5 separate regions of the Homo sapiens genome follow, and regions 1, 2, 4 and 5 are each linked to region 3. Evidence: promoter capture Hi-C in human tissues and cell types (Jung and others, 2019). All regions are on one chromosome and are shown on one strand. Each heading gives the region's core, a stretch centred on a gene start or on the middle of the fragment in contact. The rest is flanking DNA. Distances are from core to core; before and after follow the strand shown.

Region 1 (5,645 bases), core at 760-3,259, 700 kb before region 3:
CCTCCCAAAGTGCTGGGATTGCAGGTGTGAGCCACCACTCCCGGCCAGGAGCATGGGGTTTTGTTTTGTTTTGTTTGTTGGTTTGTTTTTTGAGACGGAGTCTCACTCTGTCACCCAGGCTGGATGCAGTGGTGACATCCAGCCTCTGCCTCCTATGTTCGGCTCACTGCAGCCTCTGCCTCCTACGTTCAAGCAGTTAGCTGCCTCAGTCTCCTGAGTAGTTGAGACTACAGGCGTGCACCACCACGCCTGGCTAATTTTTGTATTTTTAGTAGAGACGGGGTTTCACCATGTTACCCAGGCTGGTCTTGAACTCCTGACCTCAAGTGATCTGCCCACCTCAGCCTCCCAGAGTGCCGGAATTACAAGCATGAGCCACCGCGCCTGGCCAGGAGTATGTTTTATATTTGAAAAATACCAGTATTGCTGAGTTCAGTGGCTCACACCTGTAATCCCAGCACTTTGGGAGGCTGAGGCGGGTGGATCACAAGGTTAGGAGTTCGAGACCAACCAGCCTGGCCAACGTAGTGAAACCCCATCTCAACTAAAAATACAAAAATTAGGTGGGCGTGGTGGCGGGTGCCTGTAATCCCAGCTACTTGGGAGGCTAAGGCAAGAGAATCACTTGAACGCAGGAGACGGAGGTTGCAGTGGGCTGAGATCGCGCCATCACACTCCAGCCTGGGCGACAGAGCAAGACTCCGACTCAAAAAAAAAAGAAAGAAAAAAAATACCAGTATTTCTGCTGTGCACAGAAAAATTTTAAAAATACAAGATTTCTTAAGTTTTTTAGAGTTGACATCCTTGGCCTAACGTCTTGATTCTTTTCTGGAGATGGCATGTAGTAGCCTCTTGATCATGCACTTTATGTCCTGAGGAACTCGCCACACTTCCCTTTCTCCCCTTCACACGAAGCCCAAAGGTATGCCCCTTGAACCCTTCCTTCAAAATGGCCTTTCCCCAGCTCCTGGCCTGACAAGTTTATGAAGGTAAAATAATAGAATTAGAAATGCCTTCAGCATGGACCTTGTCTTAAAATACAGACTGGCTAAAGAAACCTGGAAGTAAATGGCTTCAAGCTGGGTGGGCAAACCAGTGCTGCAGCTGAGTTTTGTTTGCCTGGCACAAATTTTTTTTCAGTTGATTTATTGGGTATTTTAAGAAAAATTTATTCAAGTACTACACACACACACACACACACACACACACACACACAGAATGCCTTTAGGTGGGTCGTGCATTCCAGTAGGCCTCACTACTTTTTATTGCCTTATATCCAACCCCAGTTTATACATTTATGTCACCTGTCTAGGCTCCTGTATGCCTTTGAGTATTTAATGATTAATGATTACCAAGTTTGCAGGCCTTAACTAGAAAGCAGGAGTGACACCAGTTACTATCCATGCAAATGAAAAGATTGAATCCTATTTTCCAATGTTAAAAAAAAAAAAGGCTTGCATGAGGCAGGAAAATCAGTATCAGGAGGAAGAGCAGAAAGGCTGCAGGAGGCTGGGATTTCATAAGTGAGTCACCTTCATGGAACACTTACAAAATACTTAGGTAGAAGCTGGGGAAATTGCACTTGAATGTGGGGAAACTAACTTCCAGGGGCAGTGATGTAAAGTGCTCTCCATCCCTGGTAGTGCGGGGTCAGGGGGTTCAGGCATCCAGCAAGTCTCAGCCCTCCTCTTTTCACATTGGTAGGTTGTCTCCAAACACCATGGTGACACCTCACAAGAAGAGCATGCTGGGAAATGGCAACTACGATGTGAATGTCATTATGGCAGCACTTCAGACCAAAGGCTATGAAGCTGTTTGGTGGGACAAGCGCAGGTAATCTGAATCAGGCTTGACTTGATGGAGAACAGCACGGTTGTGGTATAAGCTTTTAGTACTTGGGCTCATGGCATGAGTGGGGAGGTAGCCAGTTGTGGTATTACAGCCAGGGAACCTTGGAAAATGGGCTGCATCAGAGCCTGCCACCATTTCTCCCCTGCAGGGATGTCGGTGTCATTGCCCTCACTAACGTCATGGGCTTCATCATGAATCTGCCCTCCAGCCTATGCTGGGGTCCACTGAAACTGCCCCTCAAAAGGCAGCACTGGATCTGTGTTCGAGAGGTGGGAGGGGCCTACTACAACCTCGACTCCAAACTCAAGATGCCCGAGTGGATTGGAGGCGAGAGCGAGCTCAGGTAATCGGCACCTTTTGTGACTAAGTTGCTAGGCTGCTTCATTTCTTAGGTTGGGGACACTGAGCTCATCTCTGGTTATTTGACAAAGGAAATGAAATTCCTGTGCCCTTGGATTCTCTCCCTGCCTTAGAATCATAGTGTCTCGGACCTGACCTTAATCTTCAATGGCGCATCAGTACTTTTAAGTCCTTTTGGTAGGGAAGATGCCCAGCCTGGGATACCAGCCTTCTAGTCTGGTGGGGCTGGCATTGTAACGTTCTCTCTATTTAAGACAACTGAGACAGTGTAGTTGCCAGTTCATAGAAAGGAAGACAAACATGCAGGCCAGGGAGCACTGAATTTCCCCAGGACCAAAGAACATTTGTAAAAGTTCTTTAGAGGCGATTGCTCACGCCTGTAATCTCAGCACTTTGGGAGGCCAAGGCGGGTGGATCACCTGAGGTCAGGAGTTCGAGACCAGCCTGACCAACACGGTGAAACTCTGTCTCTACTAAAAATACAAAAATTAGCCAGGCGTGGTGGCGGACGCCTGTAATCCCAGCTGGTCAGGAGGCTGAGGCAGGAGAATCACTTGAACCTGGGAGGCAGAGGTTGCAGTGAGCCGAGATCATGCCATTGCACTCCAGCCCAGGCGACAAGAGCGAAACTCCGTCTCCAAACAAACCAAGAAAAAGTCCTTTATATACTTTGGGTACTGTTATTCACAGATCCAGCTACTCTTGGCAGTAACTACAAGGATGAGCAAAATTCAGGTTGGAATTTTAACTGGACAGATTGGAGGGTAACCAAATGTGGAACCCTCCAAAACCAGATGACTACAGGGATGTGTTTTGGACTGCCGAGGGTAGAGTGAGGTTTCAGGTGACTTTGTGGTCCTGAGACTGGAATTTGCAACTTGCCAGCATTTCATTTTCTCTATCTCTTTTTCCATAGGAAGTTTCTAAAACATCATTTGCGAGGAAAGAACTGTGAACTCCTGCTGGTGGTACCAGAAGAGGTAGAGGCTCATCAGAGTTGGAGGACCGATGTGTAACAGTTCTGCCCAACCTCCCTCTCGCCTCAGCCCCTTCAGTCCTCTGTGACGTGCTGTGGCCTCTACAGTGGGTCTGCCCTTGCCACTTCCCCAAACATCTCATCAAGTTTTTCCCCTTCAGATCTGACAGTGCAATAGGACAGACGTGTGGACTGTTATAAGAACTACTCAGTGTTTTGTTCCTGGGCAAGGAAGGTAGGAGTTCTGTGCACTTAAGGCCAGTGGTCACAAACCCTTGTTTTATTTAAGAGACAGAGGAGAAAGTGGAGCGGGGAGGGAATCCTAGCTTATTTTCCCTTTTCTATGAGGACTTGACACAGGTTCTGCTGAGTTGTCACTGCTGCTCCAGACTCACCTAGAGATGCTGCCTCCACTTTCCATCCTGTCTGGGTCTGAAAACAGTGGGTCTGCAGATAGTGCCCACAAACCCCATGTGACTGGTTTGAAGGACCCAGAGCATAAAGGTCTCTCAGGAAACCATGTCCAAAACCCTAGCAGCGGTACAGCATGCTGTCTCCAACCCTTATCCCCAGGTTTAAGGGTGGTTTATGGCCATACGTGGAGGTTTTTTGTTGTTGTTTTTGAGACTGAGTTTCACTCTTGTTGCCCAGGCTGGAGTGCAATGGCACCATCTCGGCTCACTGCAACCTCCACCTCCTGGTTCAAGCGATTCTCAGGCCTCAGCTTCCCAAGTAGTTGGGATTACAGGCGCCTGCCACCACACCTGGCTAATTTTGTATTTTTAGTAGAGATGGGGTTTCTCCATGTTGGTCAGGCTGGTCTCAAACTCCCGACCTCAAGTGATCTGCCCGCCTTGGCCTCCCAAAGTGCTGGGATTACAGGCGTGAGCCACCGCACCCGGCAGAGTTTTATAATGAAAAATTAACTAATATTCTAGTATGAAGTGAGGAGGATACTGAACAGGATGTGGCTAAAGCCAACCTGGGACAGCCATGGGGTGGCTTGGTTTCTTCACTCCAGTGTTGTCCCTACCATTTCGCAGCATTGATTTAGGAGGCTCTGGGACAAAAGAGAAGCCAAAGAGCAGTTTTCCCAGTTCACTCACTCTGGCAAAATCAGGAAAAAAAAGTCTGCTTTTGACATCAAATTCCACTAATTTGGGGCAGCGTTGGGTGAGGAAAGTATTGTGAAGACAGGCTTCTTGGAGTAGGGGCAGCCACAATTCAGTAGACACTCTAGGCTCGGAGGCTGCCACTGTAGTTGCCAAGCTCAGGTTGGGTGGTTCTGTGCTGTATGGATGGAATAGGACCTGGGCTGGTCATCTTCATGTCGTTTCCTCTCTGTATCAATGGAAGTTCAACCCGCCCCTACCTCTTCAGATAGTTGTAGGCCACTTTTCTCTTGTAACTTTGGAAAACAAAAGAGGAGAAATAAGTATCATACCATATGCGTGTCTCCAAAGTGGATGTGGTTGCCTCAAGGCAGGTGGCAGGCAGGGGTGACCTGCTGGCCCTCAGATCAATGGTCGTGGCAGGTCTGAGAGCTGTCCCACTGGCCAGACTTCTCTCCAGCAGCAAAGCCAGCCTGGGGCTTGCATGTTGATCCTGAGCAAGCTTAACGGGGTGAAGCTGGGCTTTCTCCCCCCTGTGACTGGAGTGCATGTTGACACCAGCACTTTTTCTGCACATGTATCTTCAATCCAACAAGGCCGTTTTTTTAATGCTGAGTAACAGGCCACCAAGCGGCTACTGCGTTATATCTTCTCAGCAACTGGCCGCAGTCTCTTCTGCACCATTTTCTACACCAGACCTGCTTGGCACCACAGGGAGCTCTTTTCCTGCCCTGCACAATGACATTCCAACCACCACCAGCCAGACATTACAGCCAACCTTGCTGATTGTCACAAGCAGGACCTTGGGGCCACTGGCACTGTCAGATAGTAAGCCATTTCTTGGGTAGAGGAGGAAACTCCTCTCCACAAATCCACTTGGGCCTGTGCAAATGGCACTTGAAAGAGTCCCCATGCACTTGGAGTCCATGAGCCAATGGGATATGCAAAGACGCTTAAACATTTCAGGGCTGGTTTCTCTGTTCATATCCAATTCTGGTGCTTAGGAACAGGGACCCATGCTGATGCCCAAGGGCAAAAAGCCCCACTTCCTTTAAGGAAGTGAACAGGCCTGACCCTGATGCCCAATAACGGGCAACCCTAGGCTTTTTGTTTTTCTTGCTTTTATTCCTTTTTGTTGTTGGCCTTGTGCTGCGTTTGTTTACAAAAGATGTATTTTGTTTAACCAAATATTAAAAATGGAAAACTCCATATATGTCTCCTTGTCTGCCTGAATTCTATAATTGTGTAAAGAAAAATAAACTTTAGTATGACGCTGTTTTAAAAGGAGTTCATTGCCAGCGTAAGTCATCTTTTAGAGACATATCATTCTTTGATTAACTCTTTCA
Region 2 (6,163 bases), core at 1,352-3,851, 570 kb before region 3:
AGGTCCAAAAATCAAACTTCTGACCTTTGCCCCAAATCTGCTTCTCCCAAAGTCTCCCTCATCTTAGATCTATCTCTTTCCTGATCCTCTGACCTAAAACCTGGGTGTTATCCTTGACATCTTTTTTCTCTCACACACCCTAACTCTAACCCATTAATAAATCCTGTCTGTTCTAATTTCAAAATATATTTAGTCAGAACAAACCTCCCAGTTTCCTCAACAAATAAATTACAAGGAGGAAAAAAGAGATGGAGTCAGGGAGAAGACCTATAGATTAAAGAGATTTAAAAGACATATCACCTGGCCGGGTGCAGTGGGTGACACCTGTAATCCCAGCACCTTGGGAGGCCAAGGCTGGAGGTGGGGAGGGGATCTCTTGAGATCATCCTAACGGCAAACTGAGACCTTGTCTCTACAAAAAAAAAAAAAAATTAATTAGCTGGGTGTGATGGTGCACACCTGTAGTTCTAGCTACTCAGCAGTCTGAGTGAGATAGAAGGATTGCTAGAGCCCAGGAGGTTGAGGTTGAGGCTCTAGTGAGCCGCGATCATGCCACTGCACTCTAGCCTGGGTGACGCAGAGAGAAACCTTGTCTGAAAAAAAAAAATTAAGGAATTACTAAATTTAAGTGTGATAGTGGGAATATGGTTGTTAAAGATGAGAGTCTTCATCTTCATCTTTTAGGGATACATACTGAAATATTTATAATGAAATGATATGTTGCTTAGTATATGCTTAAAATAATATGGGAAGGGAGGTAAATGGTTAGTGGTCTATATGAAAAAAGATTTACCCTGAGTTCATAGTTGACGATTGTTGAAGCTGAGTGATAGACACGATGGTTCATTATTTTTTTTCTACATTTGTTTATGCTTGATATTTTCTATAATAAAAGATTAATATATAATATATGTTATTTTTATGTGTATATGTGTGTGTGTACATAGAGAGTGAGAATATAATTCAACTATTTCTTACCACCTCTACTGTTACCTCACTGGACTAAACTACCACCTATTAATATCTCCCCTGGATTATTATAATAACCTCTAATTAACCTCCCTCCTTGAGACCTTGCCCCTACTGTTTTGTTTTTTTTTTTAATTCACTAAAGAGCCAGAATGGTCACTTTAAAACATAGGTTAGGCTGGAATGCAGTGGCTCATAACACCCTGATGATTCCCCCTCTCACTCAGAAAAGAAGCCAAAGTCCTCTCCCATCTCTAATATTTCACTTTTCTAGTTTTCTATGTACCAGCCATAGTGACCTCTTTGCTATTCCCAGAATATGTCAGATACACTCCTGCATCAGGGCCTTTGCACTTTGTGCTGCCTCTGCCTATCATATTCTTTCCTCTTAGATCTACATGGCTTGCTGTCATCTCTTTCAGGTCTTGGCAAAAATGTCCATGTCTCAATGAGAACTTCTCTGATCACTTTATTTGACAGTATAACCTCCTAACTTTCATACTCTGTCTTCCTTGTCCCCTTTCCTGGCCTTATTTTTATCCATACCATTTAATAACATCTGATGTACTACATATTTTACTTATTTGTGTTTATTTTTTATTTTATTTATTTATTTTTTTTTTCAGACGGAGTCTTGCTCTGTCACCCAGGCTGGAGTGCAGTGGCATGATCTCAGCTCACTGCAACCTCTGCTGCCCAGGTTCAAGCGATTCACCTGCCTCAGCCTCCCGAGTAGCTGGGATTACAGGTGCCCGCCACCACGCCCGGCTAATTTTTGTACTTTTAGTAGAGACAGGGTTTCAGCATCTTGGCCAGGCTGGTCTTGAACTCCTGATCCCATGATCCACCGCTTCAGCCTCCCAAAGTGCTGGGATTACAGGTGTGAGCTACCGGCGCCTGGCCTATTTGTGTTTATTATCTAATCTCTCACTAGATTGTAAACTTCGTGAGAGAAAAAAATTCTGTCTCTTTTGTTCTCTAGTTTATCCCAAGTGCACAAAACAATCCCTGGCATAAACTAGGTGTGCAATAAATATTTGTTGAATGACTAAATGAATGAATAAACAAATAGTGAATAAGTTTGAGAAGTACCATATACTATATATTCTTCTTGAAGAGTCACAGCGCACACTAGCCTGTGAAATCCTGCAGTGACACAAAACACCTGTTTTGGCAGGGCACGGTGGCCCACACCTGTAATCACAGCACTTCGGGAGGCCAAGATGGGTGGATCACCTTAGGTCAGGAGTTCTAGACCAGCCTGGCCAACATGGTGAAACCCTGTCTCTACTAAAAATTACCAAAAAAATGGCTGGGCACGGTGGCTCACACCTTTAATCCCAGCGTTTTGGGAGGCCGAGGCGGGTGGATCACTTGAGATCAGGAGTTCGAGACCAGCCTAACCAACATGGAGAAACCCCGTCTCTACTAAAAATACAAAAAATTAGCCGGGCATGGTGGCATGTGCCTGTGGTCACAGCTACTCGGGAGGCTGAGGCAGGAGAATCGCTTGAACCTGGGAGATGGAGGTTGTGGTGAGCCGAGATCGTGCCACTGCACTCCAGCCTGGGCAATAGAGTGAGACTCAGTCTCAAAAGAAAAAAAGAAAAAGAAAATACCTGTTTAACCCAGCATTGTCCCAGACTTTTAAAATCACATACCCTTTTTTCAAGTAAAGTTAAGGAAGAGGCTTGGAGAAATCCTACCCCTAGGCAAATTGGTCAAAATGAGGTTGATCAACAAAACACTTGATTCAAATGACAATCTGATTTTCTTTAGTTACTCTACCACATGGTGGTCTAAGAACCACTGGGCTAAAGAAATAATTACTGTTATTGTGAGTTTTCTGGTGCCCTTGATGTTTGCTCTTGAGAACAGAAAAGATCATTCAGGAGCTAGGTTTTTTTTTGTTGTTTGTTTGCTTTTGAGACAGAGTCTTGCTGTGTCGCCCAGGCTGGAGTGCAGTGGCATGATCTCGGCTCACTGCAACCTCCGCCTCCTGGGTTCAAGCAATTCTCCTGCCTCAGCCTCCTGAGTAGCTGGGACTACAGGTGTGTGCCACCACACCGGGCTAATTTTTGTATTTTTAGTAGAGACAGAGTTTCACCATGTTGGCCAGGCTGGCCTCGAACTCCTGACCTCAGATGATCCACTTGCCTCGGCCTCCCAAAGTACTGGGATTACAGATGTGAGCCACTGCGCCCAGCCAGGAGCTAGGTTTTTAAAAATTAATATTTAATTAATTAAAATATTATACATTTTTCCTTAAGCTTTAAGTCCCTTTATAAATCTAGCACATTTTAAGGGTGCTTTTATAACAAGATTAAATTCTCTTAAACATTTTAATTATGTTTATACATTTAGTGTATTGTATTTTCTTTAAGAACTTTATTTGTTGGCCAGGTGCACTGGCTCACACCTGTAATCCCAACACTTTGGGAGGCTGAGGCGGGTGGATCACAAGGTCTCTACTAAAGACAGGATCACCCTGTCTCTACTAAAAATACAAAAATTAGCCGGGCATGGTGGCGGGTGCCTGTAATCCCAGCTACTCAGGAGGCTGATGCAGAGAATTGCTTGAATCCAGGAGGCAGAGGTTGCAGTGAGCCAAGATCACGCCACTGCATTCCAGCCTGGGCGACAGAGTGAGACTCCGTCTCAAAAAAAAAAAAAAAAAAAAAAAAGAACTTTGTCTAATTATCTAATTATTAACAGCAAAATCTTCCCAATTACCTAAATATCTTTTGTAACTCAAATAAATTTAGAAGTATAGTGAGTTGTAGGCACCATTAAATGTTCAAATACTATTTATAAAATTAGTTATCAACTTGAAAATTGAAGGAATGTACCATTTAATCAGTCAGAGGCCAATCCATTACAAAAAGGTCAAATTATCTTAAACGTTAAAAGGTCTCAAATAGCAAATATGCACAGGTTATTACCAAATTTATTTATTTATATTCTATTTTATTTTTTGAGACACGGTCTCACTCTGTCACCCAGGCTAAAATGCAGTGGCTCCATCACGGCTCACTGCAGCCTGAGTAGATGGGACTGCAGGCACAGGCCAGCATACCTGGCTAATTTTGGTATTTTCTGTAGAGACTGGGTTTCGCCATGTTATCCAGGCTGGTCTTGAACTCCCAGGCTCGAGCGATCCACCTCCCTCGGCCTCCCAAAGTGCTAAGATTACAGACATGAGCCACCATGCCCATATTGCCAAATTTAATATGAAAATAGTAATCTATGGGTTTGATTTGTGTCTCTATTTTTAAATCTCCCTATATTTAAAAACACTATTTCTACACTTAATTCTAAATTTTCCTGAGTCTCAAAAAGGAAACAATTGTGCTATCCCAAATAATTTGGGGTATCCTCACAGGTAAATTTTGGGGTTACCTTTTCAGCTGATTGAGATTACATATCAACCAGGAATTTTGTCTGGGATTTTCCAGAGGTATAGCTTTCCAGGGTAATTTTTCTCAGGAAGAAGAGGGACAAATAAAGCTTTCTTTAATAGTTGCTAGCCCAACCACCATGGCACACGTTTACCTATGTAACAAACCTGCATATCTGGCACATGTACCCCTGAATTTAAAATAAAAGTTGAAGAAAAAAATAGTTGCTGGGCCTATAAGATTTCCAAGTGTATTCCCTCCAAATGGGTTGATCGCTTAGCCCATGTCCTTTAGATTTAAGTTGTGCAGGTACACTATCTAGATTTTTCTTTTCCTTATTGAAGTCTGCAGCCCTCACTAAATTTGTGGATAACTTCCAACATTGTTTCAATTTACATTTAAATTGCTCTCTTAAACTATGTAAATGTAAATGTATTGGATTATCTATATATCTTAAATTTTTGTCTGACCTGTGATCACATCCCAAAAAATCATGTTAATAGACTACATACAAGGTTTTTAAAGTGCCCCTACCAGGTCTTAGCACAATTAACACAATTAATATGTGTTGCATTTAATGAATGAATGAGATCATGACTTAAATTTAGGCCTTTTCTTATTCAGAGCTTTAAATGCACTACAACATTGGGCTACCAATTAAATGTATGCTGTCAGAATCTGACAGTTACTCTTCTAACTGCTAGCATTACCTACAACATCTTTGACATTTACTATTCTGACATGTCCTCCATAATATTTGGTTTATGTGAGATAACCTGACCATAATGACAATCACTGGATTTTCCTAATACCTGTTTTTCATATGTTTTTCAGTATATTAAAAACTGAAGCCGGGCATGATGGCTCATGTCTATAATCCCAGCACTTTGGAAGGCCAAGGTGGGCAGATCTCTTGAGCCTCAGGAGTTTGAGACCAGCCTGGGCAACATAGCAAGACCCCAGCCATACAAAAAATAAAAAATTAGCCCTGTGTCAGGTGACAGAACAAGATTCTGTCTCAAAAAAGAAAAAGAAAAAACATTGAAAATTCAATTGACTATAGAAACATAGTTCCAGCACAATATTAAATACCCAATTAATAACTAAGATGGGCTGGGCATGGTGGCTTATGCCTGTAATCCCAGCACTTTGGGAAGCCAAGGCAGGCGGATCACCTGAGGTCAGGAGTTCGAGACCAACCTGGCCAATATGGTGAAACCCCATTTCTACTAAAAATACAAAAATTAGCCTGGCGTGGTGGCAGGCACCTGTAATCCCAGCTACTCGTGAGGCTGAGGCAGGAGAATCTCTTGAACCTGGTAGGCGGAGGCTGCAGTGAGCCAAGATCACGCCACTGCATTCCAGCCTGGGCGACAGAGCAAGACTCCATCTCGAAAAAAAAAAAATAATAATAATAATAATTAAGACGATCTGTAACTCCAATTCAATTCTAAAGACTAGTAAGACATAAGGCCTTGCTAACCCATTTACTATTTTTTTAAGTTTTTTCTTAAAATAATTTATTATTATTATTTTTTAAGCCTACAGCATGCAGTATTCCCAGGTTCCATTTACTATTGAAGTAAGAACGATAGGGCTTATCATTTGTTTTGCTGATCCACTTGCCCATACACAATAGAACCTGTGATCTAGCAAGTGGCATGCTATTTGTTCAGCCAAGAATTGCTGTTCATGTTCTGTAGATAGATAGGTAGATGATAGAATAGATAGATAGATACATAGATAGGAAGGATACTAATGATATGAATACTTTCTCCTCTCTTAATATTTCTATT
Region 3 (5,711 bases), core at 238-2,737:
GGGAAGAGAAGGGAGGCGGGGGGAGGAGGGTTGGCAGCGCCGGGGGTGGCGTCGAGGAAAACTGGGGGGAGATTGTCCAAGGCCAGCAAGCGAGAGAAAGAGAAAACCCTTATCAAACTCCTAATTCACTGGGCTCCGAGGCCCCAGACACACTGGCCCGATTGTCTGGCTGGTTGTGTGTGTGAGCATGTGTGTGTGTGTGTGTGTGTGTGTGTGTGTGTGTTCCAGTGTCTGCTCCCCCCACCCCCAACATGCCTCTGCCTCGTGTGACTACCTCATTGTGTCCCATTTCCCACCCCCTACACCCCTTTGGACTTTCCCAAGCATGAGGCCTTGCCTCCCCAGACCCTTTGCAGCCCACTCCAGACAGGACCCCTTGGGGTGGTCTTGGGGCTTTGCCCTGCTGTTGAGGAGCTCAGAACGTCACATGGTTGCCAATGCGACCCCAGCTCCATTACATAACCCACATACACCCCACCTCGGCCTCAACACCCCGGCGGGGCTGCCCTCAGTTAAGAGAACAGCACTGCGACCTTTGGAGGAGAGGCCAAGGAAAGAGAGAGAAAAAGGTGTCAACGGAGGATGGGCAGGAAAGAAAAGGGGAGGGAGGGAGAGGTGGGCAGAGGAGGGAAGAGGCAGGGCAAGTCCCCACCCCTTGTTGGGGTGGGGGAGTAGAGGACTTCGTGACAATCAGGACTAGGACTCCCCTACCCTCTCCCAAGACAGGGTGAGCCCAGTGTGGAAGGAGCTGGGTCCCAGTAGGTAGCAACCCAAAATGCCTCTAAGACCTACTGAGAGAGGGCCCCCAACCTGTCCCACCTTGGCCTCCTGGCAGCTTTAGTCTTGTGTTTCCACCTTGAACCAGACCAGAACGCGCGTGTGCTGGGTGTCTGCAGAGAAGGGACCAGGGGTCAAGCTGGGGCTCTGCACTTCTCAGAGGGATCCCTGAGAAGTCTCTCTTACTGTGCAGGATGGGGCAGAAAGGGCTGCCTGGGAAAAGGTAGGAGGCAGGGTGAGGAGCTGGGCATCAGTGCCTGGCACACACTAGGCACTCAACAGGATTTCGCAGACGAAGCAGCTAGGGCCAGCCACCCTCACGGGCCCCCAGGACCCTCACCGCCTTCACGTCTCTCCCTAGTCCCCTGCCAAGTGCCCATCCTGCCACCTGAGGCAGACGTTAGGAGTCCTGGTTGGGCCCAATTTTCTTCCATCCAACAGGTTCTGACCCTCCAGCCTACATCTCTTCCTTCCTCGGCCTAACCTCCCCTCCACCTCCCAGACTAAGCCCAAGATAAGCCTCAGCAAGATGGGCCTGGGCAGTAGGGCAGGGAGCTGGGTGGGGGGGCCTGGGCTCCGGGTGGAGGAGCCCTGAGTGTTGGGGATGAAGGAAAGCCTGGAGGCTCCACCTTCTGCCCTTCCCTCCCTCCTCTCCCCTCCCCCCTCTCCCCCTCCTTCCTTCCCCAGCCCTCCGCAGCGGCTCAGGCTCAGTCGCTCAGTCAGTCTCGGGCTGTCCGGCCAGGGTGGTTGGTGGTAAGGATTCAGGCTCCGTCCTAACGAGGCCGTGGCCTGAGGCTCAGGGCCCCCCGCCCCTCCCTCCCAGCCCACCAGCGTCACCTCCCAGCCCCGAGCTGGACCGCACACCTTGGGACACGGTTTTCCACTTCCTAAGGACGAGCCCCAGACTGGAGGAGAGGTCCGAGGAGGTGAGTGCGCAGCCTGCTCCTCCCTGGCCCGCCCAGGCCTGGGACCCTGCTGTGAGGTGGAGAGAGGCGACACCCCGCCCTTGCCCCCCACCTGGCTCTCCTCTAAACCCCGTTGGGGCAGGCTGAGGGAAGAAGGAAAGGTGAGAGAAAAGGTGGGAAATTCCAGGGGCCGGGATTAGAGCAAAATAAAGGCTCCGTTTTTTTCTTCCTTATCATCAACAAACCTCCACCCAAAAAAGGAGGCTAAAAAAAAAGCCACCCACACCAAGAGACGGTTGGGACCAGGTGGTGGGAAGACACAGAGGCGGGACGCACCCACCTAGAGTCTGGCATGTGCGTGGGCCCCAGGGGCCAGATGGGTTTAGCTGGAGCAGGAAGGGCCGCCACCTCGGGGCTGTGCCCACGTCCTGTCTCGGGCCGCCCTCGGGGCTGCGCGCGCGGCCGCTCCATCGCGCCCTCCTTCCATCCAGGTGGGCGTTGGACTCTTTGCGAGGACCCCGGCGGCTGGCCCGGGGGAGGCGGCCGAGGCGGCGGCGGCGGCGGCCGGGGGCGACATGGCGGAGGAGCAGGACCTATCGGAGGTGGAGCTGAGCCCCGTGGGCTCGGAGGAGCCCCGCTGCCTGTCCCCGGGGAGCGCGCCCTCGCTAGGGCCCGACGGCGGCGGCGGCGGATCGGGCCTGCGAGCCAGCCCGGGGCCAGGCGAGCTGGGCAAGGTCAAGAAGGAGCAGCAGGACGGCGAGGCGGACGATGACAAGTTCCCCGTGTGCATCCGCGAGGCCGTCAGCCAGGTGCTCAGCGGCTACGACTGGACGCTGGTGCCCATGCCCGTGCGCGTCAACGGCGCCAGCAAAAGCAAGCCGCACGTCAAGCGGCCCATGAACGCCTTCATGGTGTGGGCTCAGGCAGCGCGCAGGAAGCTCGCGGACCAGTACCCGCACCTGCACAACGCTGAGCTCAGCAAGACGCTGGGCAAGCTCTGGAGGTGAGCACCCGACCGCCCCCCGGGCTCGGGCCCTCTAGCTTCGGGTGGATTCAGGGTAGCCGAGGCGGCCCGGCCTCCTGCACCTCAGAGCGGGACTGTCTGGCAGTCCTCCTTGGATAGGGCTGGAAGACCAGGTGTGGGGGCCGCGCCCGCCCTTCCATCACAAGGACCCTGGAACTCGGAACTCCAGCGGCCTAGGCCGGGTCTCCCTACGGGGCGGCGGGCAGGAAGGCGCCCCCTCGTGGTTGGAATTTTGCGGGTGGCAGACCGTGGGGCCTGGGGCTTTGGAGGGAGGGAAGGAGGCCTTCACTAACTCCTGCCCACAGATACGCACACTATGCCACCAGCTGCTGTGGTCAGGAGGATACGAGGGAAACGCTTGGAAAGAACCAAAGGGTTGGCTGGAGATTCAGGGAAACTGAGGCAGTCAGATGGAGAACTCAGGGGAGGTTTAAAGAAAACGGAATTCAGATGAGAGTCTTTGGAAGAGTGAGGGATGAAGAACTGCGGGACAAATCTGCTGCTGCGGGACCTCATCCTATCCTAGGGCTCTTCCCTGGGACTTTCTGACGCCACCCTCCTTTGAGTTGGGGGCTTCTTCATCCTCCTAGGGAGAGGACACACAGTAAGGGGCTCCCCCTCCTGCCCTGCCCCAGAGTCACCAAGCTGATCTCTTTCCTCCCTCTCCCAGTTCGGCGCCATCTTCCCTGCCAGGGCCCCACCCCAACGTTGAGCAACCTCTTCCCCACTGCCCCAGAGCTGGAGCTGAGCACTCTGGCCAGAAGGAAACCTTGGCCTCCTTCCTGCCCAGGGGCCCTCAGAGTCCCAGGTTCCCTGGGACCAGCCCACACCTCTAGGAAAAACATCCCCCGCAGGGAGCAATTATCCCACCCTCGACTCAGGTCTGGGGTTCAGCCAGGCCTCCTGGGGATGTGTGGAACAAGACAGTCCCCCACTCCCACCCGGGAGTGCCAGAGCAGCTCTGAAAGAGACCAGGGACTCCAGGAGATGTGAGCCGGTAGCAGTCACCTGATTCTCGCTAGACTGACCAAGAGACAGGCCCAGAAAGGCAAAGGAATCACAAAGGTCACATAGAAGTTGGTAGCAGAGCCAGGGCCAGAACCCAGGACTCCCATACTCTCTGTCCAGAGGACTTCCCCTGACCCTGGTGACAGTGGTGGATCACCTACACTTTGAGGAGTGGTCAGGAGGTTGGGGGGAAGCAAGAAGATGAGAACAAGAGTGAGGAGCATCTGGGTTCCAGAAAATTAGGGCTTTGTCAGAGGAGCCCGGCTCTCTTCCGCTGCCCTCCCCCTTGCCAGCCACAGTTGGGTAGAGATTGGGTCTAGAGGCTTAGAGTGGTAGAAGGTGCAGGAGGATCTCCAAGAGACCAAAAGATTCACATCCCGCCCCCTGGCCTGTTCTTGCCATGTGTTTGCTGAAGACCTGGTGCCCCTTCCCCTGCCCCTTCTCAGCCCTCAGTGCCCTGCTCACCCAGGGCAGGCCCAGGGCTCAGCGACCAGCCCGCTGTGTGGACCCAGACAGCCCAGTTCTGCCCAAGAGCAGAGGTCACAGCTAGCTCCTCCACCCAAGGTCCATCCAGATCTGGGTGGGGCTTGGCCCAGGCCAGTATCTTTAGTGCCAGGGGACAAAGAGCAAGTGAGAAACAGACAACCAGGAGAGACATACAGATAGGGCAGACTCTGGGGACCATGAGAAGACCACAGTACGAGCCCAACGAGAGTCAAAGCAAGGACGGACCTCATTTTCCCTCCATCTCCCATTGCCAAGGGTTTAAGATTGGCTCCTCCATTGTCCCTGTCCCCAGGTTCCCCCAGCCCAGAACCCTGGGCTTGGACTCCCTTCAGGAGGACTTATTCTTGGCCATCACTCAAGCTGTGTGCACAGGGGCCAGCCTGAGGTGTGGCAGTCAGGAAAACTGGCACTACTTGCTGAGGACCCAATCCCAATGGGAGGATGGGGCCAGAACCATGGCAAGGATCAAAGGCAATGCCAACAGAGGGTGGCTCCCTGGACCCTGGAGGGGGGTCCTGAGAGACATTTGGATTTGGGCTGGGCTGGCCAATTGCTCCAGGGGCTTCTCCTGAAACCTCCCCAAGCTGTGACTCCTGGGATGTCAAGAAGTGGGGTGGTTAGGTAGGCAGAGCTGGAAAACAGGTGTCTTAAAACCAAAAAGAGAAAGATACACACAGACTGTGTGGAGTGCCCCAAGGGAGTGTGGGATCAGACACACTGGAGCCCAGGTCCTAAGGGGCCGTGTCAGCCCCAACAGTCATTCTAACCTTTGATGCCCATCTGGGGAGGGGCTAGTTGAGGCTGATCACAGGGTGGTGCCTGTGGGTTGGCTGATCTGCCTGGAAAGAACCAGAGCCAAGAAACTGGAAAGGCGGACACAGGCAAGAGTCCCTCCTGTGTGGTGGGGGTCACCCAGCCTCTGTTCCCAGTGCCACAGGCCCCTTCCCCAAGTAGTCTTCTTATGCCCCTGGCCTAGCAGGACACAGGTAGCAGCAATCAGTGCCCCACTGTGGGAGGTCCCCGGTTGGGGTTTCCAGTTTGGGTGAGGAATCAGCCTACCTCTTCTTGCCCCCATTCCAAACCTGGGAGACCAGGGAGAAAGAGGGCTGACAGGAAGGTGCAGATGAGGACTGGGTTTGGAGTTAGAGCTGGAGGCGAAGTTGGGGGTTTGGGGCTGGTAATGTTGAGTGGGGACTGGTGCTGGAGATTGGGTTTACATGGTGGGCAGGCTGGGCTTGGGGTTGGGGTGGAGGTGGAATCAGCTGTCCGGCACAGCTGGTGGAGGAGGGAGCTGGGGTCGGGGATGGCAGTGGCCCCAGGCTTAGATTTCTGTCAGGGTTAGGCTAATGCTGGGAACTAGCTTAGGAGGTAGCAGCGGAATCCGATGTTGGAATCCTCTCTCTCTTCTGGCCCCTGTCACTTTCTTGCTGATGCTGGCTGCCAGCTGGGCAGGGGGCAAGGGAAGGATAGGTGAAAGAGTGAGCTCTGTG
Region 4 (5,539 bases), core at 889-3,388, 520 kb before region 3:
GAGGAAAGACAGAAGAGGGCTGCATCCTCAAGGGCTTGTAGGCCACTGTAAGGCCTTTGTCTTTTCTTTCAAGTGGAAACCTCTGGAAAATTTTAAGTAAAGTGACATAATAAAAGGACCCCTATGACTGCAGTGTGAAGAATAAATTCAGAGTGAGCAAGGACAGGAGCAGGCAGATTAAAAAGAGGCGAGCGCAGTCATCCAGGCAAGAGATGATGAGGATTGGGGCAGGTTAACAGTGTAAATAAAAGAACATGACCCAGGCCGGTGCGGTGGCTCACGCCTGTAATCCCAGCACTTTGGCAGGTCGACACGGGTGGATCACGAGGTCAGGAGTTCAAGACCAGCCTGGCCAAGATGGTGAAACCCCAGCTAAACTACAAATATTAGCCAAGTGCGAGGGCAAGCACCTGTGATCCCAGCTACACGGGAGGCTGAGGCAGGAGAATTGCCTGAACCCGGGCGGCAGAGGTTGCAGTGAGCCGAGATTGTGCCACTGCACTCCAGACAAAAAAAAGAAAAAGAATATGACCCAGGCGAGTCTCAATCACTTTAAGAGGTTCACTTGCCAATGTTAAGAACGTACTTGGGGAAAAAGAACACATAACCACAGAAAAATCAGTGGTCCATGTTTTTTTTCTTTTTGAAGCTCCTTTTCTTATGCTATGTTCCCAAAAATTTGGGAAACAAACACTCAGCACCCACACTGAGGGGCCAAATCTCCCCGCTTCTACCCATCTGTTGAATTGAGACGTTAGATGGGCCCGTCTCGAGGGCCCTAACAGCTCAACAGTCGTGTGACGCCATTTGGCCAAGCTTGCGGGGCTTCAAAATGCAGTTTGAGACGACAGGAAGCAGGTAAGGAGAGGGAAGCCAGTCTGGAAGGAATTGAGCGGAGAACGTGGACTAGCCTGGTTAAACACTTGTCCTTAGCCTTCGCCCTTTCTGTGTCTAAAGACCATCGCTCTGAAACCTTGTTCTCCTGAGAGTGCTGGGGTCTTCTCCGGGCCTTCTGAGGAGCGCCGTTCAACGGCAGCAAAGGGCCCACGGAGTCCACTGGGGCTCCAAGCAATTTTTTTTTTGAGACGGATTCTTGCCCCGTCGTCCAGGATGGAGTGCAGTGGCACGTTCTCGGCTCACTGCGACCTCCGACTCCCGGGTTCAAGCGATTCTCCTGCCTCAGCCTCCCAAGTAGCTGGGACTACAGGCACCCGCCACCATGTCCTGCTAATTTTTGTATTTTTCGTAGAGACGGGGTTTTGCCATTTTGGCCAGGCTGGTCTCGAACTCCGGGACTCAGGTGATCCTCCCGCCTCGGCCTCCCAAAGTGTTAGTATTACAAGCGTGAGCCACCATGCCTGGCCTCCAAGCACATTTTGTTTCTGTATTAGCAACAGCTGTGCTCGGCCAGGGACGGTAAAAATATACGGTTCAGAAAATGCACCTCAGTGTGAACCAAATGTAGCTGAGGGCACTTTAACCTGGAAGGGACATCGCCACCTCACAAACTCCGGAAAGAAAGGGACACGGCTCTTCCATCATGGCTGCCGGAGACAGAGCAGCGAAAGGCAACGGAAAGGAAATGGCGCCGGGGCCCGCCGCCATTCTCAGCGGGCCCAGGGCGGTGGGGCGAGAGGGCTGGCGGCGCCATATAGGAAGGCCAGCCACGGAATTTAAGACCCTCCCGGCCTCTGGCGCCAGAGGACTCTGAAACTTGATAACAATATGGAGGACGGTTATTGTCTCTGCAAAGCAACTTCTTCAAGCCGGCCGCGGGGTCTGTACCGAGATCGGAATCAGGCAAAATCCTCTATTCTCTAAACAGAATGCGTTACGCATACTGCGCATCTTAGCAACAGCAGGCCGGCTAACGACGCAAAGAATGTTACGTCGCACCAGAGGCGCTTCCTCCCACCTCATCCCACGTTCTAGTTCGGGTGGCGCGAGAACTCTACGCTCGCTCCGTACTTTGTTTTTCTTGTACAGACCGCAAAATACACCCATCGTCGCAACTGACGTAAAGTGCTTCCAAGAATACCCGTAGTTCCCCGCGGAGCCCTCGGGCTATTCCGAGGCGCTGTTTACGTATCGTCTCCGCCGTACGCAGCGTTAAGTTGGAGCCGACTCAGCGGCGGCCGCCATTTTGTGCAGTCGCTGGGAAGGAAGGAGACGCCTAAACCGCGGCACTGCCCGGTTTGAGCGTAGCCAAACCTGCCCACCGGCTTTGTAGCCCCGATTCTCTGTGTTTTGCTCCCGTCTCCGACGAGAGAGGCGGCGACGGTGGCGTCTGCGACGGGAGACAGCGCGTCGGAGCGAGAGAGCGCTGCGCCTGCCGCCGCCCCAACAGCGGAGGCGCCGCCGCCATCGGTCGTCACCAGACCGGAGCCGCAGGCCCTCCCGAGCCCGGCCATCCGTGCCCCGCTCCCAGATCTCTATCCTTTTGGGACCATGCGCGGAGGAGGCTTTGGGGACCGGGACCGGGATCGTGACCGTGGAGGGTAAGGGTGGGGGAGGAGAGGAGAGGCCTGGCGTGGGGGTGGGGGAGTTGCTTCTTGGGGAGGCCCGGCGGACTGCGAGCCTGGGAGCCTTGCTCTCGACCCGGGAGGCGAGGGGAGGCGACTCGAGGCGAGACAGCGGTTTCGTGCGCGGACCTCGGCCCCGGGGTCACTCGGGACCCGAGGAGGGCGGCCGCTTGGCGACGCTGGGCCTCTCCGTGCGGACGGCCGTCGTGGCGCGGCCCGGCCCCATCCCAGCCCCGCGGGGGATCGGGAGGGGCGGCCTGGCCGCATCAGCCCAGGCCCGGGCTTTGGCGCCTCGCCTGGTTTCCCGGCTCTCGAGCCGGGCCGCTTCGGGCGGGCTGTTCGATGTCTCCAGGCCTCGGCGTTCATCTGAAAAACGCGGATCTTCCTGAGAGAACACTTCAGCCCAGGAAAGCCTTACACGAAATGGCACCCTTGACGTTCTCTCCCCAGAGTTCACTGTTTAAGGCACGGGAGACGAAAAGACCAACTTCTCATTTTTAGAAATAGATTTTAATTCTCTTCAGTTATATTTTAAGTCGGAGGAAATGCATTGGGATGTAAAGCAGTGGAGTTGCTTGCCATCTAAATGACCGTGTTTGGGGGAAGGATGGGTTTTTGGGTCGTTACTTTAGTTTTAATCTTAATATTTCAGCCTTTTTTCTCTAATTGGACTGCAGCGTCAACTATTCTGCCTCGCTAGAAAGTTCTTGGTATTGTGGACCGGGCGTGGTGCCTCAGGCCTGTAATCCCAGCGATTTGGGAGGCCGAGGCGGGCGGATCACCGGAGGTCAGGAGTTCGAGACCAGCCTGATCAACATGGAGAAATCCCGTTTCTACTAAAAATAACAAAATTAGCCTGGCTTGGTGGCGCATGCCTGTAATCCCAGCTACTCGGGAGGCCAAGGCAGGAGAATCGCTTGAACCCGGGGGGAGGAGGTTGCAGTGAGCCGAGATCGCGCCATTGCACTCCAGCCCGTGGCAAGAGCGAAACTCCGTCTCCCCCGACCCCCCCGCTTCCCCAAAGAGTTACGTGACGCCACTTGATATGTGTGTGTGTGACCTTGGTCAAGATCCTACCTTTTGTGAGCCTGTTTCCTCTGAGGAACGTGATAATTGCCTTTACTTTGCTGTGTTGTCAGGAATTAAGAGATAATGGATGTAATAGTCTCACTGTAGTAGGCGCTCTGTTAACGATATTTTCTCCAAACGTTTTTGTCTTTTGTGGTTCAGATCCACAACTGCTGGATTTACTAGTCTCAAGCACTTCAGTTGCCACTTTTTACAAAATTATTTTGATTTATACCTTATTAGGAAGGAAAATATTTTATCTCATTGTTTAGAGGATGAGAGGTGGAATGTTTGCTTCGCGTGTGACAGTATTGCTAAGTTTAGAAGTGAATTTCAGTTCATTGACTTAGAAAAAGAACTTGAGATTATCTAGGAAAGTTGAAAACGACCCAGCAATTCCTCCCTAAGCTTTATACCCTAGACTGTAATGCCTAGAGAAATCCTTGCACAGGTACCCCAGGATCCTTGTACAGAAAAGTTTATATACCAGCATTCGTGCTAACAGGATATTGGAAACAACGCAAATGTCTCCATAAATTGTGGGTATTCGTACAATTGAATCAGCCGTGAAAAAGAGAAAAGAACTTGGATTAATGTGGATAAGTCACAGAAGTGTTGAGTTAAAAAGCACGTTGTGGTAGGGTGACACATTTAATTAAGGATATGTGCAAATATGATAGGAAAGGGAGTGGTTAACAAAATTCAAGGTAGTGGTTATTAGGGTGAAAGTTGTAAGCTTGAAATAGGCACATAGAGGGGCTACAAGTTACTAATAGTGTTCTATTTCTTTACCATTGGTGTTTGGTTTAATATTTCCTTTCACCATATATATGCTTTAATAAGTTATTTGAAAGGAAAAAAGTGAATTACTGATCCATACTTTGAGTATCAGATGACATTTTTTAAAAATTTCAAACGAACTAGCCTTCTTTCATAAGATCTGTGCCCCAACTCTCCCTTTCCCAAGAAATGTTCTTGATTATTTGAATTGCTGTTGTTTCAACTGAGTGTTACACAGTTGAAGTGGTGGTTATTTTGAAAAAGGAATAGGTGAGGTCAGTTCATGTATTTCACATGTGTGATGCAAAAATGATAGGCATTGTACATTTGAAGTAGTATGGTTTTTAATGTTAATATATGACTTCAAAGGTGAATTTTTTTGTAAAGCCAAATTAAACTAATTACTGACCGGATAAAAACATTTGAGCAGCATAGTATACCAGAGAGTACAGTGTGCGTATTTAAAGATGGCATGGATATGCTCAAAAGTAAAAGGCTTTCTTGAATTTTGAGGTCATTAATTATGTCAGCATTAATTATAAACATGGAAGACGGCATATTTTCCAAGAACCACATGTTTCAAATTAAATGTTTAGTGTAGAATAGAATGTCTTGAATAAATAGCCAGGGAAGTAAGGAGAGAGGAAAAAAAAATACATGAATGATAATCATCAGTTTAAAGCCTTAACAGGAATCTTACTTTCAAGTTTTATTTTTTCCTAAGTCACTAAGGTTTGGGTAGCATTGCAATGTGGCAATAACAATGAAGTCTTTTATAATTTGCAAGAGTGATAATCCAAAGACTTTCTACCTCTTGAAAAGTACCTTATTTAGCTGCTTCATTTGCAAGTGTGGCGGGAGCGGCAATTGAGGTGGCCTTTTGGTCTGTTCAGTATTGAGTCTTAAGCTGAGGGGCATATTAAATATGTCGCTGACACGGGTATCCCTATGCTATGTGCTCTTCCTGTTCTGATTCTTAATTTGTCTTCACTGTCTCAGTAGTGGTATAAATGGAATTAGCCAAGTTCTGCCTGTTGAGTGTAGGTATCCAGTGATCCCAATAAAATCTCCTGCCATCAATTTTTGTTACGTATGTATTTAGAGGAATGTCTGGCTGGTTAAGCCAGAGTTCTAATGGCTTTGAATTGCAGGAAATTGAGGCCCTGTAG
Region 5 (5,714 bases), core at 1,286-3,785, 550 kb before region 3:
TATTATTCTTTGTCTTTGAAATTAAGAGTAACATTCTTTTTGGATAATGTAGCATTTGGTATACATGCTAAGGCAGAATATGCAATAATTTTTTTTTTTTTTTGAGATGGAGTCTCGCTCTGTCACTCAGGCTGGAGTGCAGTGGTATGATCTCGGCTCACTGCAACCTCCAACTCCTGGCTTCAAGTGATTCTCCTACCTCAGCCTCCCAAGTCGCTGGGATTACAGGCACACGCCACCACACCCAGCTAATTTTTGTATTTTTTAGTAGAGTCAGGGTTTCACCATGTTGGCAAGGCTGGTCTTGAACTCCTGACCCCAAGTGATCCACCTGCCTCGGCCTCCCAAAGTGTTGGGATTATAGGCATGAGCCACCATGCCCTGCTGCAATAATATTTAATAAAGTCATCAATAATTAAGAAAATCCTTCAAGGAATTTATTTTGCCTGGCTCCCAAGAATATGAATGATCTTAGCCTCTGCTTCTTTCAACTTTTATAACATTTTCTCACTGCATTTCCCATCAGGTGAACATCAGATGGAGCTACTTGATTATGTAGCAGCAAAGTTCCATGAAGAAGCTGGCATCTTCAAGCTATTGGTACAAGCTTTTAAATATTGCTTTCACAGAGCTATTTAGCATAATATTTTTCTTCTATTGATCTCTATTCAAATAACGTCTTCCTTCAATTTCCAAATGCATGTTTATTTTTACATTAATCCTGTGTAGATTATCGATTCAATAATGGCACTTTTTCGAGTGGATTTCAGTGGCCGTGGGGAGTTGGCCGAACGGCAGCAAAAATTGGCCCAGATGTTGTCACGACTCCAAAAAATCTCAGAAGGTATATCTTTAAAATAAAATGGCATCTGTGACTATGTTTGTCAAGTATACTTTGCAGAGAAGCTTGGAATATAATGTCAGGAGGCAGCGATTTTTTTTTAAATAAAATTACCTTTATGAGAATACAACTCTTTGTTTTTTTTTTGTTTTTTGAGATGGTATCTCGCTCTGTTGCCCAGGCTGGAGTGCAGTGGTGCGATCTCGGCTCACTGCAACCTCCGCCTCCCAGGTTCAAGCAATTCTTCCTCCTTAGCCTCCTGAGTAGCTGGAATTACAGGCACCTGCCATCACACCAGGCCAATTTTTTGTATATTTAGTAGAGACGGGGTTTCACCATGTTGGCCAGGCTGGTCTCGAGCTCCTGACCTCGTGATCTGTCCGCCTCAGCCTCCCAAAGTGCTGGGATTACAGGCATGAGCCGCTGAGCCCGGCTTTACAACTCTTTTTAAACCAAAAATATTTATTCTAACCTTAATAATAATAATAACAAATAATTTCTGTTGTCAATGAAAAATAGGAATATGATGTTATTTATAAAATAAATTCATGATGCAATATGTCTAAACTCTGAAATCTAAACAATGAACTTTTAAATATCTATATTGCCTTTCTCATAGTTTTAAAATTTTATCTCTTGATGCAGAATATAACGTGGCTGTTTTTGTGACCAATCAAATGACTGCCGATCCAGGAGCAACTATGACGTAAGCCCCAATATTCTACTTTTTATTTCACAGAGGTTAATATAAAGAGGGTTAGAGCGTAGAATAGAAAATAATTTCAAGGCCGGGCACGGTGGCTCACGCCTGTAATTCCAGCACTTTAGCAGGCTGAGGCAGGCGGATCACGAGGTCAGGAGATGGAGACCAGCCTGACTAACATAGTGAAACCCCGTCTCTACTAAAAATACAGAGATTAGCCGGGTGTGGTGGCGCACACCTGTAATCTCAGCTACTCCGGAGGCTGAGGCAGAAGAATCACTTGAACCTGGGAGGTGGAGGTTGTAGTAAGCCGAGATCGCGCCATTGTACTCCTGTCTGGGAAACAGAGCAAGATTCTATCTCAAAAAGAAAAAAGAAAAAAGAAAAGAATTTAAAAATCATTAGTCTTTATGTGGGCACAAATATATCACAAATCACTTTATTACTGGGCGCAGTGGCTCATGCCTGTAATCCCAACACTTTGGGAGGCCTAGATGGTTGGATCACCTGAGGTCAGGAGTTCAAGACCAGCCTGGCCAACATGATGAAGCCTCGTCTCTACTAAAAATACAAAAAATTAGCTGGGCGTGGTGGCGTGCACCTGTAATCCCAGCTATTCGGGAGGCTGAGGTGGGAGAATCACTTGAACCTGGGAGGCGGAGGTTGCAGTGAGCCAAGATCATGCCATTGCACTCCAGCTTGTGCAACAAGAGCAAAACTGCATCTCAAAAAAAAAATCACTTTATTGCACAGTGTATATGACTTCATAATTGTAAATATCACTTGGTAACCAGAATCTATTTTTCTCTAGTTCTTTATAGAATAAAGCAATACTTTAACCATTTTCAGCAGTACTTTGGGCTTCTCTTTGGTCTAGGGCTAAAGGGGTATGGGAGGACAATAAGAAATAGATCCTAGGGAAATAAAAACTTATATTGCAGCTTATCAGTATAATAAACACCATTCATAAAAACAAAAAAGTCATCTTTCTACAGGATATACATGAGATATATTTATCAGAGGCACTATGGGAGAAGTCTCCTGTTTGAAGAAAAAGAATTTCAGTTCACACTAGGCATATTCAGAATTTGTTGAAGTGTTTGTGCACATAACTATTGATGACTCTGAAAGACGGCAGTGAATAGAAACACACAGAGAGCTAAAGTAGGATAATAAAAATAGATAAATCAAACAAAGGTTTGTTGCCACCGTAACAAATTTTGAGCATTATGTGTCTGAATAAGCAATCAAAATAATCCTAAATACACACCACTGCACTCCAGCCTGGGAGACAGAGCAAGACTGTCTCAAACAAAGCAAAACAAATCTAAATTCATGATAATGCTTTTTTAAAGTGTGTGTGTGTTTTTTTTTTTTAAGAGACAAGGTTTCACTCTGTCACCCAAGCTGCAATGCAGTGGCACCATCTCTGCTCACTGCAACCTCTGCCTCTCAGGCTCAGGTGATGCTCCAGCCTCAGCCTCCCGAGCAGCTGGGAGGCACACATCGCCACGCCTGGCTAATTTTTTTATTTTTAGAAGAGACAGGGTTTTGCCATGTTGGCCAGGCTGGTCTCGAACTCCTGGCCTCAAGCGATCCTCCCACCTCAGCATCCCAAAGTGCTAGGATTACATGTGTGAGCCCCCTTGCCTAGCCAAAAAGCTTTTAAAAAAATCTTTTAAAGGCTGGGTGCAGTGGGCAGTGGCTCACTGTAATCTCAGCACTTTGGGAGGCCGAGGTGGGAGGATCACCTGAGGTCAGGAGTTCAAGACCAGCCTGGACAACATGGCAAAACCCTGTCTTTACTAAAAATAAAAAAACTAGCCAGGCATGGTGGTGTGCACCTGTAGTCCTAGCTTCTTGGGAGGCTAAGACAGGAGGATCACTTGAACCTGGGAGGCAGAGGTTGAAGTGAGCCAAGATCGTGCCACTGCACTCCAGCCTGGGTGACAGAACAAGACTCCGTCTCAAAAACAAAAAAAAAAAAGATTTTTTTAAAGGTTTTTATTTAGAAAATATTTTTACCAGAGAGAAGTTAAAAAACTAGTGCAATGAATTCATGCCACTGCATTTCAGCCTGGGAGACAGAGCAAGACATACTCATTTATCTAGGTTCATCAGTTGTTAAATTTGCCACATTTTTTCTCTCTCCTGTATGTGTGTGTGTGTGTGTGTGTGTGTGTGGAGGTGTACATACACCTTTGTTTCTCCACACATACACACATTCTCATATGTATATGTATGTGGTATGTGTATACGGTTTTTTGTTTGTTTTTCTTTTTCTTTTTTTTTTTTTGAGACGGAGTCTCGCTCTGTCACCCAGGCTAGAGTGCAGTGGCACGATCCCAGCTCACTGCAGTCTCCGCCTCCCAGGTTCAGGCGATTCTCCTGCCTCAGCCTCCTGAGTAGCTGGAATTACAGGCACCTACCACCACACCCGGCTAATTTTTTGTATTTTTAGTAGAGACGGGGTTTCACCGTGTTAGCCAGGATGGTTTCTATCTCTTGACCTCACGATCCACCTGCCCCGGCCTCCCAAAGTGCTGGGATTACAGGCATAAGCCACTGTGCCCAGCCTCTTTTTTTTTTAGATGGAGTTTCACTCTTGTTTCCCAGGCTGGAGTGCAATGGTGCGATCTCAGCTCACTGCAACCTCCACCTCCTGGGTTCAAGCAATTCTCCTGCCTCAGCCTCCCGAGTAGCTAGGATTACAGGCACCTGCCAACCACCCCTGGCTAATTTTTTTTGTATTTTTAGTAGAGACAGGGTTTCACCACGTTGGCCAGGCTGGTCTCGAACTCCCGACCTCAGGTGTTCCACCCACCTTGGCCTCCCAAAGTCCTGGGATTACAGGCATGACCCACCGCACTCAGTCGTGTTTGTTTGTTTTTTGAGACAGAGTCTTGCTCTGTCACTCAGGCTGGAGTGCAGCAGCACCATCTCAGCTCACTGCAACCTCTGCCTCCTGGGTTCAAGCAATTCTCCTGCCTCAGCCTCCCGAGTAGCTGGGATTACAGGCGCCTGCCACCATGGCCGGCTAATTTTTGTATTTTTAGTAGAGACGGGGTTTCTTCATGTTGGCCAGGCTGGTCTCGAACTCCTGACCTCAGGTGATTCGCCCACCTCAGCCTCCCAAAGTGCTGGGATTACAGGTGTGAGCCACTACGCCCAGCCTGTATATGTATTTTTTGGTGAACCATTTGAGAAGTTTCTTCTGAACCACTGAAAATTATTCACAGACATCATGACACTTCACCTCTTAATACTTCAGCATATCTCTTCTAAGAATAATGATGTTCTTCTACATAGCCACAATATAATTATCACATTCAGAAATTCTAACATTGGCATAATAATGTTATCTAATATACAGTTGTATTCAAGTGTCTCCAGTTGCCCCAATAATGTCCTTTATAGTTGTTGGGGGTTTTTTTGTTTTGCATTCAATTCAGGATCAATTGAAGAACATGCACTGCGTGTAATTGTCATGTCTCTTTAGTCTCCTTTAATCAGAACAGCTCTTCAACCTTTGTTAGACTTTTATGACACCGACATTTTTGTAGAACACAGACCAACTGTTTTGCAATGTCCCTCAATTTGAAGTTGAATTTTTTCTTCATTACTTAAAATGTTAAGCATTTTGACAGGAAAACTACATAAGCAATATTATGGCCTTCTCAGTATATCATATCAGGAGGCACATGATGGCAGTTTGTCCCATTATTAGTGATGTTAATTCTGATCATATGATTAAGATGATATTCACATGATGTCTCCATTGTAAAAGAAAATTACAAAAATTCTCTTTTATATTTAATTAGTAATTTGTGGTGTGATAATTTGAGACTGTGTAAATATCTTGCTCTGCAATAAGCTTTCATGCATTTATATTAGCATCCATTGAAGATTCTTGCCTAAATTAATTAGAGTAAATTAATTATTACTCTGATGGTTGCAATACAAAGTGCTATTACTTTAAAACAGAAGCAATGCATCATATGGTAGCAGATTAAATGTATCATTGACAGATATATTAAAAGATATTTGATATGCTGGAGTAAATTCTGTAAATTACATTGAAATGAATGTGTCTCTCTTTAAGCATTTTCCAAATTTACCCTTAACAATTTTGCTTCATCTTTCGCAGTTTGATATCTATCTCTCACTTTT

The links. The method cuts DNA at HindIII sites, captures the fragments that hold promoters and counts their contacts. A contact is called where the count stands out against the background at its distance.
Region 1: a fragment that was not itself captured here is called in contact with the fragment with the promoter of SOX10 in region 3 in 3 of the 25 tissues and cell types used here (dorsolateral prefrontal cortex, lymphoblastoid cells and mesenchymal stem cells).
Region 2: a contact is called between a fragment that was not itself captured here and the fragment with the promoter of SOX10 in region 3, in 4 of the 25 tissues and cell types used here (dorsolateral prefrontal cortex, lymphoblastoid cells, mesenchymal stem cells and 1 more).
Region 4: a contact is called between the fragment with the promoter of DDX17 here and the fragment with the promoter of SOX10 in region 3, in 3 of the 25 tissues and cell types used here (liver, lymphoblastoid cells and mesenchymal stem cells).
Region 5: a fragment that was not itself captured here is called in contact with the fragment with the promoter of SOX10 in region 3 in 4 of the 25 tissues and cell types used here (dorsolateral prefrontal cortex, lymphoblastoid cells, mesenchymal stem cells and 1 more).

Annotation. Positions count from the first base shown.
Region 1 is chr22:38,685,484-38,691,128 of GRCh38, reverse strand. It overlaps JOSD1 (Josephin domain containing 1), which reads left to right. Exons shown (of 5, transcript NM_001360236.2): 3 at 1,705-1,833; 4 at 2,000-2,194; 5 at 3,128-5,586. The coding sequence ends at 3,227. Among named protein-coding and RNA genes, the nearest start is that of TOMM22, 6.3 kb to the right of the region's middle. The HindIII fragment of the contact is 8,429 bases long and covers 1-5,645 here.
Region 2 is chr22:38,555,447-38,561,609 of GRCh38, reverse strand. All of the region lies in intron 5 of DMC1 (DNA meiotic recombinase 1), which reads left to right. Among named protein-coding and RNA genes, the nearest start is that of DMC1, 12 kb to the left of the region's middle. The HindIII fragment of the contact is 5,518 bases long and covers 1-5,360 here.
Region 3 is chr22:37,980,331-37,986,041 of GRCh38, reverse strand. It overlaps SOX10 (SRY-box transcription factor 10), which reads left to right and starts at 1,487. Exons shown (of 4, transcript NM_006941.4): 1 at 1,487-1,703; 2 at 2,174-2,685. The coding sequence starts at 2,258. It also overlaps a transcript of POLR2F not described here. RefSeq lists enhancers at 1-426, 2,381-3,218. The HindIII fragment of the contact is 28,697 bases long and covers 1-5,711 here.
Region 4 is chr22:38,502,910-38,508,448 of GRCh38, reverse strand. It overlaps DDX17 (DEAD-box helicase 17), which reads left to right and starts at 2,138. Exons shown (of 13, transcript NM_006386.5): 1 at 2,138-2,498. The coding sequence starts at 2,212. RefSeq lists enhancers at 1,303-1,712, 1,290-2,181, 2,113-2,302, 2,182-3,073 and silencers at 2,393-2,662, 2,693-2,862. The HindIII fragment of the contact is 16,171 bases long and covers 1-2,407 here.
Region 5 is chr22:38,533,425-38,539,138 of GRCh38, reverse strand. DMC1 (DNA meiotic recombinase 1) reads left to right here. Exons shown (of 14, transcript NM_007068.4): 10 at 527-600; 11 at 730-844; 12 at 1,487-1,547. Among named protein-coding and RNA genes, the nearest start is that of DDX17, 30 kb to the right of the region's middle. The HindIII fragment of the contact is 3,555 bases long and covers 758-4,312 here.